3 separate regions of the Homo sapiens genome follow, and all the other regions are linked to region 2. The links are contacts of gene promoters, found by promoter capture Hi-C in blood cells and fetal thymus (Javierre and others, 2016). All regions are on one chromosome and are shown on one strand. Each heading gives the region's core, a stretch centred on a gene start or on the middle of the fragment in contact. The rest is flanking DNA. Distances are from core to core; before and after follow the strand shown. Region 1 holds the start of LOC124901116 (a long non-coding RNA gene). Region 2 holds the start of SLC36A3 (solute carrier family 36 member 3). Region 3 has its middle 26 kb from the start of FAT2.

The links. The method cuts DNA at HindIII sites, captures the fragments that hold promoters and counts their contacts. A CHiCAGO score of 5 or more calls a contact.
Region 1: a contact is called between a fragment that was not itself captured here and the fragment with the promoter of SLC36A3 in region 2, in 2 of 17 cell types (M0 macrophages and M2 macrophages). The highest score is 8.7, in M0 macrophages.
Region 3: a contact is called between a fragment that was not itself captured here and the fragment with the promoter of SLC36A3 in region 2, in 1 of 17 cell types (M1 macrophages). The highest score is 6.3, in M1 macrophages.

The regions. Positions count from the first base shown.
Region 1 is chr5:151,653,753-151,657,237 of GRCh38, forward strand. It overlaps LOC105378231 (a long non-coding RNA gene), which reads left to right. Exons shown (of 2, transcript XR_944417.3): 2 at 282-1,697. LOC124901116 (a long non-coding RNA gene) reads right to left here and starts at 753. Exons shown (of 2, transcript XR_007059007.1): 1 at 714-753. The HindIII fragment of the contact is 2,524 bases long and covers 544-3,067 here.
Region 2 is chr5:151,302,448-151,305,509 of GRCh38, forward strand. SLC36A3 (solute carrier family 36 member 3) reads right to left here and starts at 1,319. Exons shown (of 10, transcript NM_181774.4): 1 at 780-1,319. The coding sequence starts at 907. The HindIII fragment of the contact is 21,144 bases long and covers 1-3,062 here.
Region 3 is chr5:151,615,939-151,618,967 of GRCh38, forward strand. No RefSeq gene overlaps it. Among named protein-coding and RNA genes, the nearest start is that of FAT2, 26 kb to the left of the region's middle. The HindIII fragment of the contact is 286 bases long and covers 1,462-1,747 here.

The DNA of each region.
Region 1 (3,485 bases), core at 556-3,055, 350 kb after region 2:
TAGCTGGGATTACAGGCCCCTGCCATCACACCCGGCTAATTTTTTGTATTTTTAGTAGAGATGGGGTTTCACCATGTTGGCCAGGATTGTCTCAAACCCCTGACCTCGGGTGATCCGCCTGCTTCAGCCTCCCAAAGTGCTGGGATCACAAGTGTGAGCCACCACCCCCGGCCGAAGTTATGTTTTATGATAACTACTTGCATTTCTCCTTTCATTTTACAGTTAAGGTATCATATTGATTTGTTAAATTTAATTTATCTTGTCTATGAATTTTATTGCAGAGTAGTATGAAATATTTGTATTCACTTAAAGTGGAAAGACAATCTGCACACCTGGAGGAGATATTTGCAACATTTACAACTGGCAAAGGTTTATTACCAAGAATATATAAAGAAGTCTTATAAATCAACAAGAAAGAAGAAAAACAACAGAAAGAAATGGACAAAAGAAAAAGCATTTTATAAAAGAAGAAATGCTCATGGCCAGCAAACATATGGAGATGTTCAAACTCATGTGAAATGTAAATCAAGACCCAATAAGATAAGCTTTTATGTCCACTAAAATGGCAAAATGTTAATAGCTAGACAATCCAAGTATTGGAGAACATACAGATCCATGGGATCTCTTACATATCGCTTATAAGGGTACGCATTAGGACATAGGACACTCACTTAGAAAAAGTGTGGCATTATCTTGCAAAATCAAACACTCACATAGGCTGCTGTGCAGGTCCTGAGTCTGTTTGCCCTCAGATCCACTCTTTGCTATGCCCTTATGTCCTCAGTTTTCCAGCAGGATCTCGGCAGCCATGTCATCTTGCTTCCAGTTGGGCTCAGTTAATAAAAGAGAGAGAATGGAAGGTGGAAAGAAGGGAGAAGCCAAGGTGTTTCTCACCAGCACCCTCCCCTTCTCCTCTCAGGTAACATCCCCTGTGGTGGCCACAGCTCTCCGATGGGTCCAGTTCCCACAGGAAAGCCAGCCATGATTCTAACTTCTACCAGGTGACCCTGGCCCTGGGCTCTGGTGACACTAACCTTTTGTTTCTCTAGTCCTGGGGAGGGGTAGTAACAGCTTCCTGCTATTATTAATTTATGGATTGCCTCATTGCCTCCTGTGAGGCTTCTCAGCTATTGATTACCATACTACTCAGCAATAAAAAGGAAAAAACTATTGATACATGCAACAACTTTGTCGGACCACAAGAGAATTTTACCAACTAAAAAAGCCAGTCTCACATTGTTACATACTATATGATTCCACTTACATAACCTTCTAGAAATGACAAAATTATTGAGGTGAAGAACAGATTAGTGGTTGCCAAGGGTTAAAGACAGGGTTGGGGTTGGAGAAAGAAATCAGTGTACCTAAAAAGAAGCAGCCAGAGGGATCTTTGTGGTGACGGGACAGTTCTGTATCTTGATTGTGGTGGTGGTTATACAAATCTACGTGTAATAAAGTTTTATGTGTGCATAGAACTATGTACATACTCAAACAAATGCATGTAACCCTGGTGAAATCTGAATAAGGTCTGTGGATTGTGCCAATACCAGTGACCTGGTTTTGATACTGTATTATAGCTATCTAAGACATTATTATCAGGAGAAAATGGGGGAAAGGTACATGTACTTTTCTGTACTATTTTTGCAACTTCTCGTGAATCTGTTACTATTTCAAAATTAAAAGTATCTGAAAATCCATAGAGTGGTTTCTGTTTTTTCTGATTAGACCCTGACTGATACTCCTACAACCCCACAATTCCTTCCGCTCCTAGATGTATATTTACCTAGCAGATAGGCCCCAGAGAAACTCATAAATGCATGTGTAGCAGTTATTCATGACAGAAGAAAACCCAACCACTCATAAATAGGAAAATAAATAAATTGTGGTACAAACACGAACAAAATCTTATACAGCAGTGCAGATGAATGTAATATGCTATACACAGCAATATGGATAAGCCTGAACTCATAATGCAATGTTGAGTGAAAAGGGCAGGGCTCAGGACATTATTTATAAGTGTTTTATCAATGTAAAAACACAGCATTTGTTATAAATTTTAAAATTACCTAAAATGATACAACATATTGCTTAGATATATACAGGTGCATGTGTGGGTGTGTTTTTGCTTATGTTGCTGTGATATTTATTATTATTTTTTCCTAATCACTAGAAAATGTGGGAATTATATTAATTGTTAAACATAAGGGAAGGATAGGTCAGGCGCAGTGGCTCATGCCTGTAATCCCAGCACTTTGGGAGGCCAAGGCAGGTGGATCACCTGAGGTCAGGAGTTCGAGACCAGCCTGACCAACATGGAGAAACCCCGTCTCTACTAAAAATACAAAATTAGCTAGGCATGGTGGCACGTGCCTGTAATCCCAGCTACTTGGGAGGCTGAGGCAAGAGAATCCAGGAGGCGGAGGTTACGGAGAGCCGAGATTGTGTCATTGCACTCCAGCCTGGGCAACAAGAGTGAAACTCCGTAAAAAAAAAAAAAAAAAAAAAAACCATAAGGGAAAGATAAACACAAAATTCAGGAAAGTGGTCACAGAGCGGACAGGATAGAGAATGAACATAGGTGTCGCCACTGTTCCAGTTCTCATGTGGGGAGGCAGGCTCATGGGTGTTCAATATATTATTTGAAAGATGATAGATGATAGATAGATAGATAGATAGACAGGTTGATGGATAATGGCTAGATGATAAATAGATAGATATATAGATAATAAATAGACAATTGATAGATGACAGATATAGATGATTGATAGGTAAATAGATGATTGATAGATAAATAGGTAGCAGATAGATTGATTGATCGACTGATAGATAAAAGCAAAAGAGAGTCATGCAAAGACCAACCAATGACAGTGAGTCATGAATCAAGGATCACAACGAATGGCTCTACGACTTGAGGTCTACTGCATTATCTATGTCTCCATTTATTATTAAAAGGAGGTATGGAGTCTAATAACTCTGGGACCTCCAATCTAATGAGAACAGAAATCCATGTGCTCTCGGATTCAGAAAACTGATGCCCATTCTTGTGCCCCATCAGGGTTCTTCTGAAAGCTTTTTGGTTTCTCAGACTCCAGTATCCATCTGTCCTATCCCTAGGTTCCAGGCTTTTTCTACTCTGGACTTGCCAACCTCTCATTAGTTAATTCATTTTCTTAACACAACTTGCTCAGCATTTAGTATGTATCAAGTGCTCAGACCTGGAGACACAGCAATGAGCAGAAGACACCAGGTCTCTGTCCTCATGGAACTTACATTTTGTAGTTTGGTGGGGCAGACTGGGAGGGGGTGAAAGTTGTTCGGGAACAAAAGCAAATAAACAAGATAATAATTACAGCTTGTGGTCATTGGTATGAAGGAGAGATGGGAGTGAGAGGGGCAGGCAGCAAAGCCTTTCTGAGAAGGAGACATCTGAACTGAGAAGCAGAGGGTGCAGAAAAGGCAGGACTAAAGCTGGGGAAACAGTGCAG
Region 2 (3,062 bases), core at 69-2,568:
ATACTCCGCAAACTAACAAAGGAACAGAAAACCAAACACTGCATGTTCTCACTTGTAAGTGGGAGCTGAACAATGAGAACACATGGACACAGGGAGGAGAACAAGACAAACACTGGGGCTGGTTGGGGGTGGGGGGCAGGGGATGGGAGAGCATCAGGATAAATAGCTAAGGTATATGGGGCTTAATACCTAGGTGATGGGTTGATAGGTACAGCAAAACCACTATGACACACGTTTACCTATGTAACAAACCCGCATGTCCTGTACATGTATCCTGGAACTTAAAATTAAATTAAATTTAATTTAATTAAAAAAAAAGAGAGAAGAGTTCCATGTGTCTGAGTTTGGGGCAGTAAAGGTGGAGACATGGGGTTAGCACCTTTTGTTTTCTGGATGGATGGCATGGGGGGTTGGGGAGAAGAGGCAGAGAGAATAATGGCAGATGTGTGAGGAGAAGAAGGCAGCCAGAGACTGTGGAAGAAAGAAAGGGAGGAAGGAAAGGGCAGACAGCCTGAGATAGGAAACTGTTCCTGGAGACAAGCTGCTCATGTTGAGGGTGGCTGCTCTAGCTGGGTTCTTCGTAAAAACTGGGAAACAGGGCTAGTAGCCAGAGCCACAGGGATTGACCTCCTTAGATTCTGAAGGTTTCATCTTTTATCCACGCATATCGTGTTAATGGAATAAGCGTGTTAAGGAGATAGATGAAGGAAGACATAGTCCAGAGTTGCAAAAACAGCAGTGCTTGACCTCAGGCCTGGAAGGGCGGTGCGGCCACTTACGATAGTCCAGCTTCTCCAGCAGGATGGACATTCTCTGAAGTAATGCTACTGCTGCTCTCTGAGGGTGACTGAGGTCCGTTGTCCAAGGAGTTCAGCTCACTGTTGTAGTCCCTTCCAAGCAATGACATCTTCAACACGGTGGGTAGGTGGCAGAGGCTCAGGGTTAAGGCTCTGAATGAGCCTCTGATGGGTCTTTCTCCAGAGAAACCATGGCTGCTGACCTGAGATGCTGGCTCCTAACCCCAAGGATGCGTGCTGCTGGCTGAAGCCTGAAGTGCATGAATCAGGGAAGCGGTGGTGGCAGGAGAGGCTGATGTTGATGATGCCTCACCTGGCTCTTGGGGGACTTATGAAAGACCCATCTCAGTCAGGATGGTCCTCAGTTTCACTCGCAATTGCTTGCCCAACCAGGACTTGCCTGGGCTTTTGGCCTCTCCTAGTTTAGCCCTTGCTGCTGTAGGGCAAAGTGAACAGTGTGACTGGGAGGAAGAAGACACCATTGGATTGGAGGTCCTGGTGCCTGGACGTGGGGCCAGGCTCAGTGCTTGTCTGTCTTTGGCAAGGAAAAAACCAGAGCTACCTCACAATGGAGGCTGCCCAGCCAATGAGCTGCAGCAGAATCCTGGGATGCAGATGTGGCCCAACAGAACATAATCCAGCTACCATGTTCCCTGTTTGGGGTGAAGAGTGGCTTGTAAGGCCCAGTTCAAATGCCACCTGCTCAGAATTTCTATACAGGAGGCGTATGGCCTGCCAGTGATTTGGAAGGGAGTGCAGGTCATGTTTAAAAAAAATCATTTGTTCAGAAAATATTTATTGAGCATCTAATATATGCTAGAAACTGTTCTCCATGCTGGGAATATATTAGGGTAGAAAACTTACTACAATCTCTGTTCTCATGGAATTTACAATCTGGAGGGGCTGGGGGAGACAGACAATAAACGAAACAAATATATCAAGTATCTGTTAGTAAAAAGCGGTATAGAGAAAATCCAGGCAAGGGTAATGGAGAGTTTCAGCTAGGGGGAGGGTCGCAATTTTAGATTGGGTGATCAGAGAGGGCCTCACCTAGAAAGTGACATTTGGGCAAAGGGCTGAACAAGATGAGGGAACACAACTCATGTAGGTCTTGGGTAAGAAACTCCTAGCAGAGGGGCAAGAAGTGCAAAGGTCCTGAGGCAGGAGAGTGCCTGGGGTGTTTTAGGAATGGCAATGAGGTCATATGGCTATCTGGGAGCACACAGAGGAGAATGGATTCGCCTGGTTTGTGCCTATTGCCCTGGCATAATTACTAATGGTGCCTCCCTTCATTATTAAAAGTATCCTGCAGCTGAGCGAGGTGGTGCACACTTGTAGACCCAACTACTCGGGAGGCTGAAATGGGAAGATCGATTGAGGCCAGCCTGGGAAACCACCCTAAAAATGAAATAAAATAGGCCACGCTCAGTGGCTCACACCTAAAATCCCAGCAATTTGGGAGGCCGAGGTGGGCAGATCACCTGAGGTCAGGAGTTAGAGACCAGCGTGGCCAACATGGTAAAACCCCATCTCTACTAAAAATATAAACATTAGCCGAGCTTGGTAGCATGTACCTATAGTTCCAGCTACTTGGGAGGCTGAGGCAGGAGAATCACTTGAACCTGGGAGGTGGAGGTTGCAGTGAGCGGAGATCGCACCATTGCACTCCAGCCTGGGTGACAAGAACAAAATTCCATCTCAAAAAAAAAATAAAATAAAATAAAAAGAGATATCCTGGTTTGGATGATAATTACATGGTCACACCAGAGATGTGGTTAAAGAGGTAATGAAAGCGGGATGGAGTGGGTGGGCAGGATCTTGTAGGCTATTGTAACAACTTTGGATTTTACTTTAAGAGAGATGAGAAATCATGGAGGGTTCTGAGCAGAGAAATGACATGACTTAAACATTTTGACAGGATGTCTCTGGCCATTTTTTTTTTTTTTTTTGCGAGCAGATTGAAGGGGTGCAAGGGATATCAATTAGGAGGCTATTACAATAATCCAGGAGGGTGTTGCAGTGACCCAGGTGTCGGTCTGTAGTGGCTTAAACCAGGGTGGTAGTGAAAGAGATGGTGAAAAGTGACTGAATTCTGGATACTTTTAAAGATAAAGCCAAGAGGATCTGCTGATGAACTTGAGGTGGGGTATAAAAGAGAGAGGAATCAAGGAAGACTCCAATATTTTTGATATGAGTAACAGAAAGAATGGGACTGGCATTAACAAAATCGCGTCCTGAAGCTGCTTTTGCAGAGCAAGCACCAGC
Region 3 (3,029 bases), core at 355-2,854, 310 kb after region 2:
GCACATGCATGTGTATATACACATGTTGTGTACCTATATATGCCTGTGTCTGTGTGAGATATGTATATGTGTGTCTGATGTGGACACATTTATACATGTGTCTATGTGTTTGTGCCTGTGTGTACAGTACCTGTGTCACTGTGAGTGAACATGCACATCGTTCTGCCTGAGGGTCTGTATGGATGTCCTTGCCTGTGTAGCTCAGGGTGTCCCCATGCTTGGCCCCGGGCCAAATGATTCCAGCACCTATAATCTTTTGTTGTTGTTGTTGTTGTTGTTGTTGTTGAGACGGAGTCTTGCTCTGTTGCCCAGGCTGGAGTGCAGTGTTGTAATATTGGCTCACTGCAACTTCCGCCTCCCCGTTTCAAACGATTCTCCTACCTCAGCCTCGTAAGTAGCTGGGATTACAGGTGCCTGCCACTATCCCTGGTTTACTGTCACTGCAACTTCTGCCTCCCAGGTTCAAGTGATTCTCCTGTCTCAGCCTCCCGAGTAGCTGGGAATACAGGCGTGCACCACCATGCTCAGCTATTTTTTTTTGTATTTTTAGTAGAGACGGGATTTCACCATGTTGGCCAGGCTGGTCTCGAACTCCTGACGTCAAGTGATCCACTTGCCTCAGCCTCCCAAAGTGCTGGGATTACAGGTGTGAGTCACCACACTCAGCCCAGTGCCTATAATCTTCACCACTACATTCGACTGTTGACCCTGTGGGGAACAGTCACCACTTCTTATTTTCTTACTATGGTGATAACATAGCAGACATTCAATATGTATTTATTGAATGAATATATCAGAAACGTCCCCACCTGAACCAGCTCCCTGGAAGCTCCAGGAGTCCCAAAGAAAAGGCCCAGTGGAGAGAAGAGCTTCATTCAGGTTGATTCCTTCCTAGCTCCAGGACACAAGTCTGAACTGATCTTCCTGACCCTCAGGGGCTTTTGCTCAATGTCCCCCTCTGCCCTGGTCAGAAGTCAAGACACAAAAGCTCTGGGCTCTGCCATAACCTTGCTCTGTGATCTTGGGTAAGTCCTTTCCCTCTCTGGGCCTCAGTTTCCCTATCTGATAAAAGAGCAGATCAGACTTCTGGATATCAAAAGGCACACTCAGACTCAGCATGGTGTGGTTTTTACCTTAGAGTTCTTCATTCAGTTGCCCCCTGCCCATCTAGATATTGGATCAATGTAATCGTCCCTCTCAGCTCCTTCTCTGTCTACTTATGATCCCAGCTAGGCAGCAAGCAGAGGTCCCAACCAGGCCTTGTTCGTTAGGGCTTCATGCTATTGCTGTGAGTGCCTGTCGGTAACCCCCAGGCATCATAATTCAGATCACCTTTGCTAAAAACAGGCTGGAGGACATTTACAGTCTTGGGAAGGGAACATCTTGGGGAAATGGTGATGAAAAATGCAGTCTTCTAATACCCTGGCCTTCTGGGCCTGTGGAGGAAGGAAGGATTCTGTAAGCTTATTTTTCCAGAGAGCTGGGTTGCGGAGGGGGTCAGAGAAGAGGCAGTGTTGGTCAATGCATTAAACTTTTCTTTCGTTGTAACCATTTCAGGTGGGAACCTTCTGTAGTTCTACTAGGTGCTTCCCTGCCTTTTCAAACAAGATGCGAAGCATGATTTCATCTTTCCTTGATGACTCAGGACCATCACAAAAACATTAACGTTTGAATTAAGTTTTAAAGCGGAGGTGTCCTCAAAGGCTGCAAAGATATTTTAGACTATTTGCCTCTCACTGAAAGGCAAAGCTTTTCTTTTTTGTGTTTAATCTTCTCTCATTGACACTGTCAGCCGTCAATTATTCCAGGGGCCCTTCTCTCTCTGTCTTCTTTATGACAGTGCATCTATTAGATAACTACATGTCTGCATTGGGTATAAAATGGATATGTAATATCTGAGCAAGGGACTCTCCTATGAGTCAAGTACATAGTAGAAACCATTGCGGCTAGTCAGAAGCCTTTCTGTCTTCAGCACTTACTAGCTGTATGGCCCTGAGCAAGATATTTCTATGACTGAGTTTTCCAATCTATAAAATGGGACTAATAGTAGTATCTGCCTCATAAGGTCATTGCAGCTCAATGTAAAGTTACATGCAACTAAGCACTTAGCACACTGGATTGTAATCTTAGCTACTCAGTAAATATTTGTTTTATTCTTAGCTATTTTTTTAGTCTGAGTTTTGGATCAATGACATTGCAAGATAAGTACTTGACTCATTTTCAAAGAATGCTTTGAGCTACCTGCAAGTAATAGAAAATCCACTAACAGTGGCTTAAACAAATAGGTTTTTGTTTGTATTATATTGCAAGAAACACACAGGCAGACAGCTGTTGGCTTTTGTTCAGTAGCTCAGTGATATTAGGGCTGGTGTCACTGCAGTTCTTTTGGCTTCTGCCTCATAAACACAATATTGCTGCTGAAGCTCCAGACATCACACTCACTTTCAAGGCAGGGGAAAGGAGATGGGGTGATGCTGGCTATGTCTACATTCCCAGAAGCCCCATATGTTTTCTTTCCTAGCTGATTGCTCCTATGTTTCACAGTCTAGAACTAGGTCACACGGCCACCACCAGCTGCAAAGAATCATGAAAAACAAGAAACAGGGATGTCGTGATTAACTTTCACCACCATTCCATCTCTCCTGGGACTTAACACATTGTCTCTCCCTGCTCTCATTTCCCAACCAGGGTTTTTTTAGTGAGAAGGAGAAATGGATATTGGGTCAGTAACTAACATTGTTTGCCCAGTAATTATTATTTTTCTTTTTTTTTTTTGTCTTAATAAGGAATTTGATTGCAAGTGACAGAAACCCAAATCAGACTTGCTTAAGCAAAAATAAGGAAATGGATAGAAAGAAAAAGGGACCAAAGAAGAAAAGGAGACAATAAAAGAAATGAATTGACTCATATCCAGGGAGAGTTTGTCCTTAGGTCTAAGTATGAGGCCAAATGAGCAAACAGCGTTGTCAAGAGATCACCCTTCTCTGCTTTTTGGCTATTTTCCTTTGCATTTACTTAATTATCAGGTA